2 separate regions of the Homo sapiens genome follow, and region 1 is linked to region 2. Evidence: promoter capture Hi-C in human tissues and cell types (Jung and others, 2019). All regions are on one chromosome and are shown on one strand. Each heading gives the region's core, a stretch centred on a gene start or on the middle of the fragment in contact. The rest is flanking DNA. Distances are from core to core; before and after follow the strand shown. Region 1 overlaps NAT10 (N-acetyltransferase 10). Region 2 holds the start of LMO2 (LIM domain only 2).

Region 1 (4,401 bases), core at 1,499-3,998, 260 kb after region 2:
GGCTGGGCACTGCCATCTCTAGAATTGCCACGAGTCTCTCTCTTCCTGCCCAGTCCAGGGCCCTCCTTTCCTATAAGTTCATATTTTGCTTTGAGCCAGCTTTTTAGTCTCATTCCCACACATGTGGAAGCCACGTTGCCTCTCGACCGCCTGAGGCCCTTAAGTACATCGCTTTCTGGTGGTGCCCAGGAGGCTGCTGCTGGGCCGCTGGGTCTCTCTTTGTGGACTTGTACCTGGAGCAGGAGGAACTCCAGTCCGTCCCGGCATCCATGGCAGCCCGCGGTTAGGTGCGCCAGGGTTTGCTGATGTTGTCTTGTGCTGTTCCACTCTTGGCTCCAGCAGACCCACTGTCCCAGAAAAGCCTGATCCTGTAGTTTATGTAGAATGCCACATCTGCGTCCTCAAGACCTGTTTCATCCATTTGGGAAAAGATGTTGGGAAAGGCCACTTTGCTCGCAGGGGTGAGGGGAAGGATAGAGAATCTATTTTTAATAAATAACATTCTAGAAAGATCAGCTGCCTGTGAGTGTTCTGAAATCCACGCACCTGGACGTTTCTTCTGGTGGGTCTTGGCTGCCTGGTGGAATTTGGAAGGTGTTGGTATCAAGGTCAAAGGTGAGCAGTGTGTCTAGGGCTTCCCAGCCCAGGAGTCTGCGGGAGAAGTGGCAGGTGGCTATGGTCACCTCGAGGGGCTTGGTGTGGTGGCTGGAAGCCAGCTAGAACTGCCTCATTTCCTTCCCAGCTCCTTCCAGGTCACTTGGTCCCTTCCATTTGTTGGGAACAGAGGTAACCTGGTGGCTTTACACATACTTTGGTATGTTTGTTTAATGGTATCCAGGCTAATGAGTCTGCAGCCCCGATATGTTGTCTAGGTTCAGAGAAGGACAGGGAAGGAAACGGTAACTTCTCAGCCTAAGGGTATTTCATATACAGCTCCTAGGACTCGTCCCCACAGGGAGAAGAGCAGGTTCTGTATGCGACCCTAGGGCTGCTGAGGCTTGTCACCGAGGCTGTCAGGACATGAGCCTAGGGGTCTTTCGTTTCTTGGGACTGAAGTTTCCTGGCCACAGACCTCTGTTAGGTCTGTAGGAAATTTTGCTGGAGGCAGGGAGGGGGCATGAAAATAATTTTTATTTATTTTCTCAGGTGGGTGCCTGAACCTGCCTTTCAAAGAGGGTTTTCTTAGACCGTGGCCAGAAGCAGAGTCACATGCTCAAATGGTCAGAGCTGGATGGGACTGTGCAAGTTGTCCAGGCATATCATCCTACAGGTAAGGAAGCTTTTGTTTAGTGTCTCTACCCTCAAAGTCTCCCCGGCTGGCTCTGCTTTGGGGTGCAAGGTGAGGGCTCTGGAGGTAGACTGCTCTGCCCTGACGCTCACCGTGGCCTTGGGCAGGTTACTTCATCCTACCTGCCCTTCAGGTCCATTTCTGCAAAATTTGAGTGGTAGGAATAGCACCTCCGTCACGGGACTGTGGTGAGAAGTGGGTGGGGTAGAATGGGAAACGTTTAGAACAGTGCCTGGCACATAGCAAGTGCCTCTGGGTTCTGGGCACTCATCAGATCTAACTAGAGGAGCCGCTCAAGTTCAGTTACATGCCAGCTCTAAGAATACTCAATAAGGACTAGCTGTGGTGTTCTTTTGAAAACAGACAGGGTCTTGCTCTGTTGCCCAAGCTGGAGTGCGGTGGCTCAATCATAGCTCATTGCAGCTTTGAACTCTTGGGCTGAAGCCATTCTCCCACCTCAGCCTTCCAAGCAGCTGGGAAGGTGCTCACCACCACACCTGCCTAATTTTAAAAATTATGTACAGATGGAGTCTCAATATGTTGCCCAGGTTGGTCTGGAACTCTGGCCTCAAGTGATCCGCCTGGGCCTCCCAGAGTATAGGGATTAGAGGCATGAGCCACCACACTTGGCCAGGACTGGCCATGTTATAAAACCACAACCTAAGCTAGAAAAGGAGTCTCCCTTGGCCAGCGAAGAGCATGCATTTTGCAGTCAGACTTGTCTGGCTCTGTATAATATCTCTGTATCCTTGGACAAGGCCTCTTTATTTGCAAAGTGTGTGTTCCTAAACACACGCTTGGGTCTTTGCATTTTATGGTCATGATCTTGGGTTCTCCTTCAAACCTGAAAAGGCATGTCTCCCCCACACCTCACCATCTGGCCCCCAGACAGAGTGACATCTGTAAAGCTTGGCTGTCTTAGGAAATGTCACTTGCGAAATGAATTCAGATAGGCCAGCCATGAGTGCTGTCACCAGAAGGGGAAGAGCCTGAAGAAGCCTGAACAAAGAAGGTTACTAAATGGTCACCCCCCATACCCCCTCGCCAGGCGGGGCTAATGCCGGCCTGCTTCAGTGCTTCCACTGCTCATCTGGCCCGGAAGTCCCGGAGGACTCCGGATGACCAGGAGACGGGACACAAAGGGGGCCGCTGAGGCTGGGAGGTGGGGGAGGGGCAGAAATAAGTGACCGTCACCTTGGAAAAATGTAGACTCATTATCTGAGGCCTGTTACAACACCCGCAGCCATTCTGCAGGCCTGGAGGAGGGGGTGGGGTCGGAAGCCCCTTGGGCTGGAATAGACAATTTCAGGGGATTGCCCCTGAGGGGGCATGCCCTTGATTCTACAAACAATTGGTTCCAGTTAAACATCATCTGGATCCTGCAAAGCGGACTTGAAAGGCAGCCTGAAAGGGAGAGGCCGGGGCTTCCTGCTTGGGCTGGTTCCGTTGAGAAAGCTCTAGCCACCTGGTATCTGGCACGGGGACTAATGTGGAAAAGGATAACTGGCCTTCCAGGCCGAGAGCCTAAAGGAAAGCTTCAGGAGAAGATTTGAATGCAGGAAAGAAACCAGACAGCCTCAAAAAGGACAATCTCAGTGTTAGCCCTGTCGGTGCAGGAGCAGACTGGTACCTGCCACCTCTGGAGAGGTGTTTTCTTTGGAGACGGCTAAGGCGCCAGCTTATGCTTGCCTGTGGACCCACTGGAGCCGAGTGAAATCCCTGTAGATGCAACCCATGCTCACAGCACCTGGGTCCTCAAGGGCTCCAGTAAGAGGGTAACTCCCCCAAGCCTGCCTGTGGCTGCTCATAGCAGGCGGAGCAGGGCAGGCCGTGAGCAGTGGCCCGGAATTAGGAGGTCCAGCTGCCTGGGTAAGTGATCATTTCTGTTTGAGTCCTAGCCCCTTGGAAGCATGTCTGCTTTTTTTTGGTAATTATTTTAATTTTAAATGTTTATTCAAAAATGTATTCCTGCTACCCACAGGCTCCAAGGGGCCCGCTCCCTCCTTCCTACCTCCACTTTCTCTCAACCCCCCACTCACCCTCTCAAGAGAGGAAATGGTGGATCCCTCATCTGGAGCCAGAATGCAACTAGATCTTGCTTTCTAGGCTGGGTACGGACCAAGGCATGTCCTGCAGGGATGGGGGAACTTGTGGGGACGCTGGACACAGACCCATGAAGGGCAGCCACTTTGAATGGCAAGTGCTGGGGACGGACAGCCCGCTCCACCACCGTCTTGGGCCACTGCACAGGAAGATGGTGTGGGGGAGTGCGCCCCCTCCTAGTGGCCCCCAGAGGGCACCATGGGTCTGTGCGGCCACAGGTCCCCAGGCTGGGCCTCGAGCTGCCCTGCGCAGCTCCTGCTGGAATTGGGCTTTGCCAGGGACTGGGATCTTTATGTCGTTCCCCTAACGCCTGAGTCACGGCCGGTCACTGACCCACAGCCACTTTGGTTCAGGTTCTCAGTGACCTTAGGAATTTCTATACCTGTTTCAGGCAGGCAGGCAGGCGACTTTTTTTTTGAGAGAGAGTCTTGCTTTGTTGTCCAGGCTGAGGTGCAGGGGTGATCATAGCTCACTGCAGCCTCGAACCCCTGGGCTCTGTGATCCTCCCACCTCAGCCTCCTGAGCAGCTGGGAATACAGATGTGCACCACTATGCCCAGCTAACTGGCAGGGAATGTTTTAAAAACTTATATTTGTGCCTGAACTTTGCACCTAAAACTACAGCCATAACTCCAGTACACTCTTGGACCTGAGTCGGCGCCTCACCATCTCCCTCCATTACCTCTGCTAGTGGCCTTGTGGTGGTACAGCCAGCTTAGCTTAGCTGGGCCTGGGGGCAGCAGTCACCCAGGGATAGGTCCCTCAAATCAATCAGGCCAGGTCAGGCCTGGGTGAAGGAGGCCCTGCTGCCACTTTGGTGGGCTGTGCCATTTGGGGATGTGCCTCTGAAGACAACCCCCAAAATAGCTCCCACATAAAGGGCCGTGGAGGGGATGGGAGTGGAGATCAGGAAAGCCTGATAGTGTCATATTCCTCAGTCATTTGGTGTCTGTCCAGCTCAGTGGCACACATGTGCTTAATTAAATGTGAGCGTGGGCGGGTGAGGAATGG
Region 2 (4,399 bases), core at 597-3,096:
TGATAGATACCAATAGATATCAATCTGGTGATAGATACCTTAGAAGCCCTGACTTCAAGACTATGCAATTTACGCTTGTCACAAAATTGTACTTGTTCCCCATAAATTTATGTAAGTTTTTTTGTTTTTGTTTTTGTTTTTATGAGATGGAGTTTCTCGTCACCCAGGCTGGAGTGCAATAGTGCCATCTTGGCTCACTGCAACCTCCGCCTCCCGGGTTCAAGCAATTCTCCTCTCTCAGCCTCCCGAGTAGCTGGGATTACAGGGATGAGCCACCACGCGTGGCTAATTTTCATATTTTTAGTAGAGACAGGGTTTCACCATGTTGCCCAAGCTGGTCTTGAACTGCTGACCTCAGGCGATCTGCCTGCCTTGGCCTCCCAAAGTGCTAAGATTACAGGCGTTAGCCAATGTGCCCGGCCTGTAAGTTTTTTAAAAACCTAGAGGTGAGTAATTATAATAAGTGATATTATTATTATTATTACTCTTAACAACAATGACAATGATGACTGATGAGGGCTAAGTACCAGCTACTATCCAAGCACTTCCATGATTTATTTCTATTATTTCTCACAATGACCCTATGGGTACCCCTATATTACAAATGAGAAAACTGAGGCTGCCATCTTTCTAAGGTCTAAAGTGATTTTCTGGGAGCACAAACAAGAGCTTAATTAATTTTAACAGATAAAGACAGAAAAGGCTTCACAGAAGATTCACCTTTTCAGGGCAACCTAAAGAAGTATGGGTTGGTTTTCTTTAAGCTGAAACATTACGGCAAGAACCTGGAGTAATATCTGCTTCAAAGGGGAGTTATGCAAAGTCAACAAGAGAAGACGTGTAAAACCCAAGCACAGTACCTGGCACAAAGTAGATGCTCCCAAATCTTTGTTCCCCTTCATTGATCCTCTGTGATGGAAGGAACTTGTAGCCACTTTCCTCATCCGCCTTGGTTTTTCAAAAACACCCTTTGAAGTTATAACCTCCTTGGGAGCCAAGGCTTCTCTGAAGCACCCCATTACAATCTTTGCCCTCAACTCAGAACTGGAATGTGTTTGAAAATGCTAACAAGGGCAGCAGCCCCACCTCTTCGTCATTGCCTAAGGTTGTTAGGCAAACACACACACACACACACACACACACACACACACACACACACATGCACACACACTCACACAGTTGCTGGGGAGATCATGGTAAACACAAGCCTCTCTTTTGGATCAGAATAATTGAGTGGTCTCCCTTTGTGGCCAGTGTACAGGAACAAATTAGATGGGTAAATTAGCAGTTCCCGAAGACATTAGCAACCAGCGGCTCACACAGCAAGCGCCTGACTCACCGTGGGGCCTCTCCAAGTCACAGCCTATGAATAGATGCTCTTCCTCCCTCCGAAAGAGAAGCCAGAGTGCCCGGAACACCACAGGGGAAGCTTGAAGACTTGTACCCCTTTGGAGTCTTTTTATTTTAAAAGACCAATTTAATCACCACTTCTTCTGGCTCCTTGAAGATGAAAAAAGTTCCCTTGCAATCGTCCATTCATCAGAGAATTAATGAAGCCTACTCACCAGCAGATGATGTAATCCTGGTGGCTTCCCCCATCAGATCTAGGCTGCCTGCCCCACGGATACCTTCTGGGCTAATTGCCTGCTTTGCACCTGTTCCTTCTCGGGAGGCCCTGGCACCCTAGCACCTGGTGCCTGTGCCATCTCCCCTCTCTGCCAGGACACCCAGAGGCCCTTGTGAATAGCAAAGCCCACTTAACGGCTGAGGGCAGGTGGGGGTATTTCCTTCTCAATTCTGCTCAAGGCCCGTTGCTGTTCTTTGAGGATGTTGCAAATCCAGGGTTTGGAGGGCTGGGCCTCTTGGTGGCCTGGTTGTCTATCTGATAGGGCGGAGCCTTCACCCTTGCAGCGAGCTCTCTCACACCAGATGTGCTCTGCGTGGAATCCTAGGCCATCAGGGGATTCCTTAGCAAGCCCTGCAGGACCCAAATCCTAACTCAGACCCTCATCCTCCTACTCAGAATGTGGAGACTTGTGATCCTCAGTTTGGACGAATTCCAAGAGACCTTCCAATTCCCAGAGGCCATCTTTGGTTCTGTTCACACATAGCTCCCTCTCCCTCCTAGGCCTTCTCCCTTTGAATTTCTCCCCTACACCATCAGCCTGTATTTACTTCTCCTTCTTGCTTAATGCATGACTATATTATCCCAGTTAAGGGGGTCTGCAGGTTTTATCAGAAAGTTCAGAGGCTCACATGACCTGGATTGGAACTTGGCTCAGCCACTGACTAGCCAGACAAACTCAAATAACGTACACAGCTTCTCAGCACCTCACCCCCTCATTCATAAAAAACAGGGACAATGGTACCCACTTTGCAGGGTTGTTGAGTGGATTAAATTAAACAACACAAGGAAAGAGCTTTCCTAAGTTCCAATGCTATGTAACACACACAGTATTGTCTTACCCAGCAATAATTTCGGTGCACGGATCTGATCATCTCTTAATTAAATATTGAATTCTCCTAACACGGTTCTTTTTTTGAACCCCTCAGGGTCTGAACAGTTATAAGTGCACAGAAGTTGGGTCTTTATGAGCTGAATAAAAGGAGACTCCGGCTGTCTTCTCTTTTGTCCTTACCATAAAGCTCTTGTCAGCTGCTCTCCTGGCCCTGCCTCTGACCCTGGGCTTTGGGGCCACTATAGGCTCTCCTTTCCTTGTCCCCCTCTGAGTCCTGAAGTCCTGGTTTGCAATCTGCTGTTGCAGTTCTCTGGAATGGCTGCTTCCCCATGCGCCCCTGTCTGTCAGCTACCTCCCCCGCATGCATGTCTGTCTGCTGGGCAAGGCCCAATTCCGAGGTGACAGCTCACCGGGCCTCACCCACAAGTCTCTTCCAAGCATTAGCAGCCCACCCCAGTCCAAAGATATCTTTTATAGCTGATCTCTGGTGGCACCTCCTACCTTCCAATTAGGAGCCTGTCAACACCCAGGCCATCACTCTTCCTGCAGTGTCTGACAACACACACGCCTGCCGCGGCTGCGCCGGGAGAGTCAAGCAAAATTGTTTCCATGGTGGTGGTGGTGGCCTGAGCACAAGAGTTGAAATCTAGGTGAATCTGAATCTAGTTCTGCCTTCTCACTTTGCAAGGAGGTGTCTTATTTCTCTTTGAATTGGCAGCACCAAGCATCATGCCTGGCACACAGTAGGTACTCATAAATAAACACGTGTAAATCAAAAAGGCCGAAGATACATTGCTAGCTTGCAGACTCCCTTTCTCAATGTCTAATGATATCCAGTTCATTTCTTTCTCTTACATGTGCAAATCAGAAAGTTAGCTCATAACTCATCTGTTGTGACTTTTTCTTTCCTTTACTTTTGTGGTTGAAAATAAATTTACCCCAGAAAAGAGAGAGAGAAGGTGCCTGATTCCTTTGTCCTCCCTCTTCGATCCTCTCTAAATCCCTGGGTCATGGTAAGACTCTCTGAAATTCAGGGCCATTTTCAGACACTGGAGCCAATGAGGGAAGTATGACACAATCGAACATTTTTCTTATCTGGCAGTGTGGTCTGGTGGTTAGCATACGGGCTCTGCCAGTCGGAAGTCTGCCTTTCTATTTCTGGGGCTTAGGGGAAACCATGAAGCAACAGTCTTAGCAGCCCACTCACTCTTGCTTTCTCTTTCTCAATGTAAAATTGAGTTCACATTGGACCTGCTTACCCACAGCAGTCACCAGCTCAACCAGGGAAGGAAACGCACCACCCTGCTAGCCCTGCTTCAGCCTTGGGTGAGGCTGTGAAGGCTGGTGGTAAGCCGATGAAAGATAATCCAAAGAAATGAAAGTGAGGGTGATGAGTAGGAGAGCGGTTTGGGGCTGAGGGTACGAAGATGCCATGATGACTGACTTAACCACATCAAACTAAACCATGTCTCCTACTACAATTCACCAGCCTGAAATTGTGAGAGGATCTCGGGCGCGGAGATTTCGCTGGCTAAGGGGCACCCTGTGTGCCTACAAGAGGAGGTGGGAGGGAAGTTAACCTTGCGTTGTCCTCCAGGGCGCAAATCCAAAAGTGGGAAAAAGGGGAAGTTCTTTGATCTGAAGTAGAAAAAGTCGGGGAGAGAAGGAGAAACACCCAGAATGGCAACAAATTTGATGAAATCAGAGGGACAAAAAGAAGAGAAGGGTATTAAGATCAGATCTTCTGAAGGGCAGAGAACTATAATGACACAGTTGCTTTATTGCTGGACCCAGGACAGTTTATACAGCAGTTCGGAAAGGCCTCTTGAGGGGTTATCTGTGTCAGCCCAGCCTAGCATCGATAGAAACATGAATCTCTGGGAAATTATCTTGTGCCTCAGACTTCAAAGTACATAGAGATTTGAACAGCCTTGAAGTCG

What was found. Contacts are between HindIII fragments. The study calls those that stand out against the background at their distance.
Region 1: a contact is called between a fragment that was not itself captured here and the fragment with the promoter of LMO2 in region 2, in 1 of the 25 tissues and cell types used here (neural progenitor cells).

Annotation. Positions count from the first base shown.
Region 1 is chr11:34,146,397-34,150,797 of GRCh38, forward strand. NAT10 (N-acetyltransferase 10) reads left to right here. Exons shown (of 29, transcript NM_024662.3): 29 at 1-512. Among named protein-coding and RNA genes, the nearest start is that of NAT10, 43 kb to the left of the region's middle. RefSeq lists an enhancer at 3,524-4,053. The HindIII fragment of the contact is 4,598 bases long and covers 450-4,401 here.
Region 2 is chr11:33,890,230-33,894,628 of GRCh38, forward strand. LMO2 (LIM domain only 2) reads right to left here and starts at 1,847. Exons shown (of 6, transcript NM_005574.4): 1 at 1,566-1,847. LOC105376621 (a long non-coding RNA gene) reads left to right here and starts at 3,717. Exons shown (of 3, transcript XR_931176.3): 1 at 3,717-3,806. RefSeq lists enhancers at 1,303-1,412, 3,790-3,959. The HindIII fragment of the contact is 12,407 bases long and covers 1-4,399 here.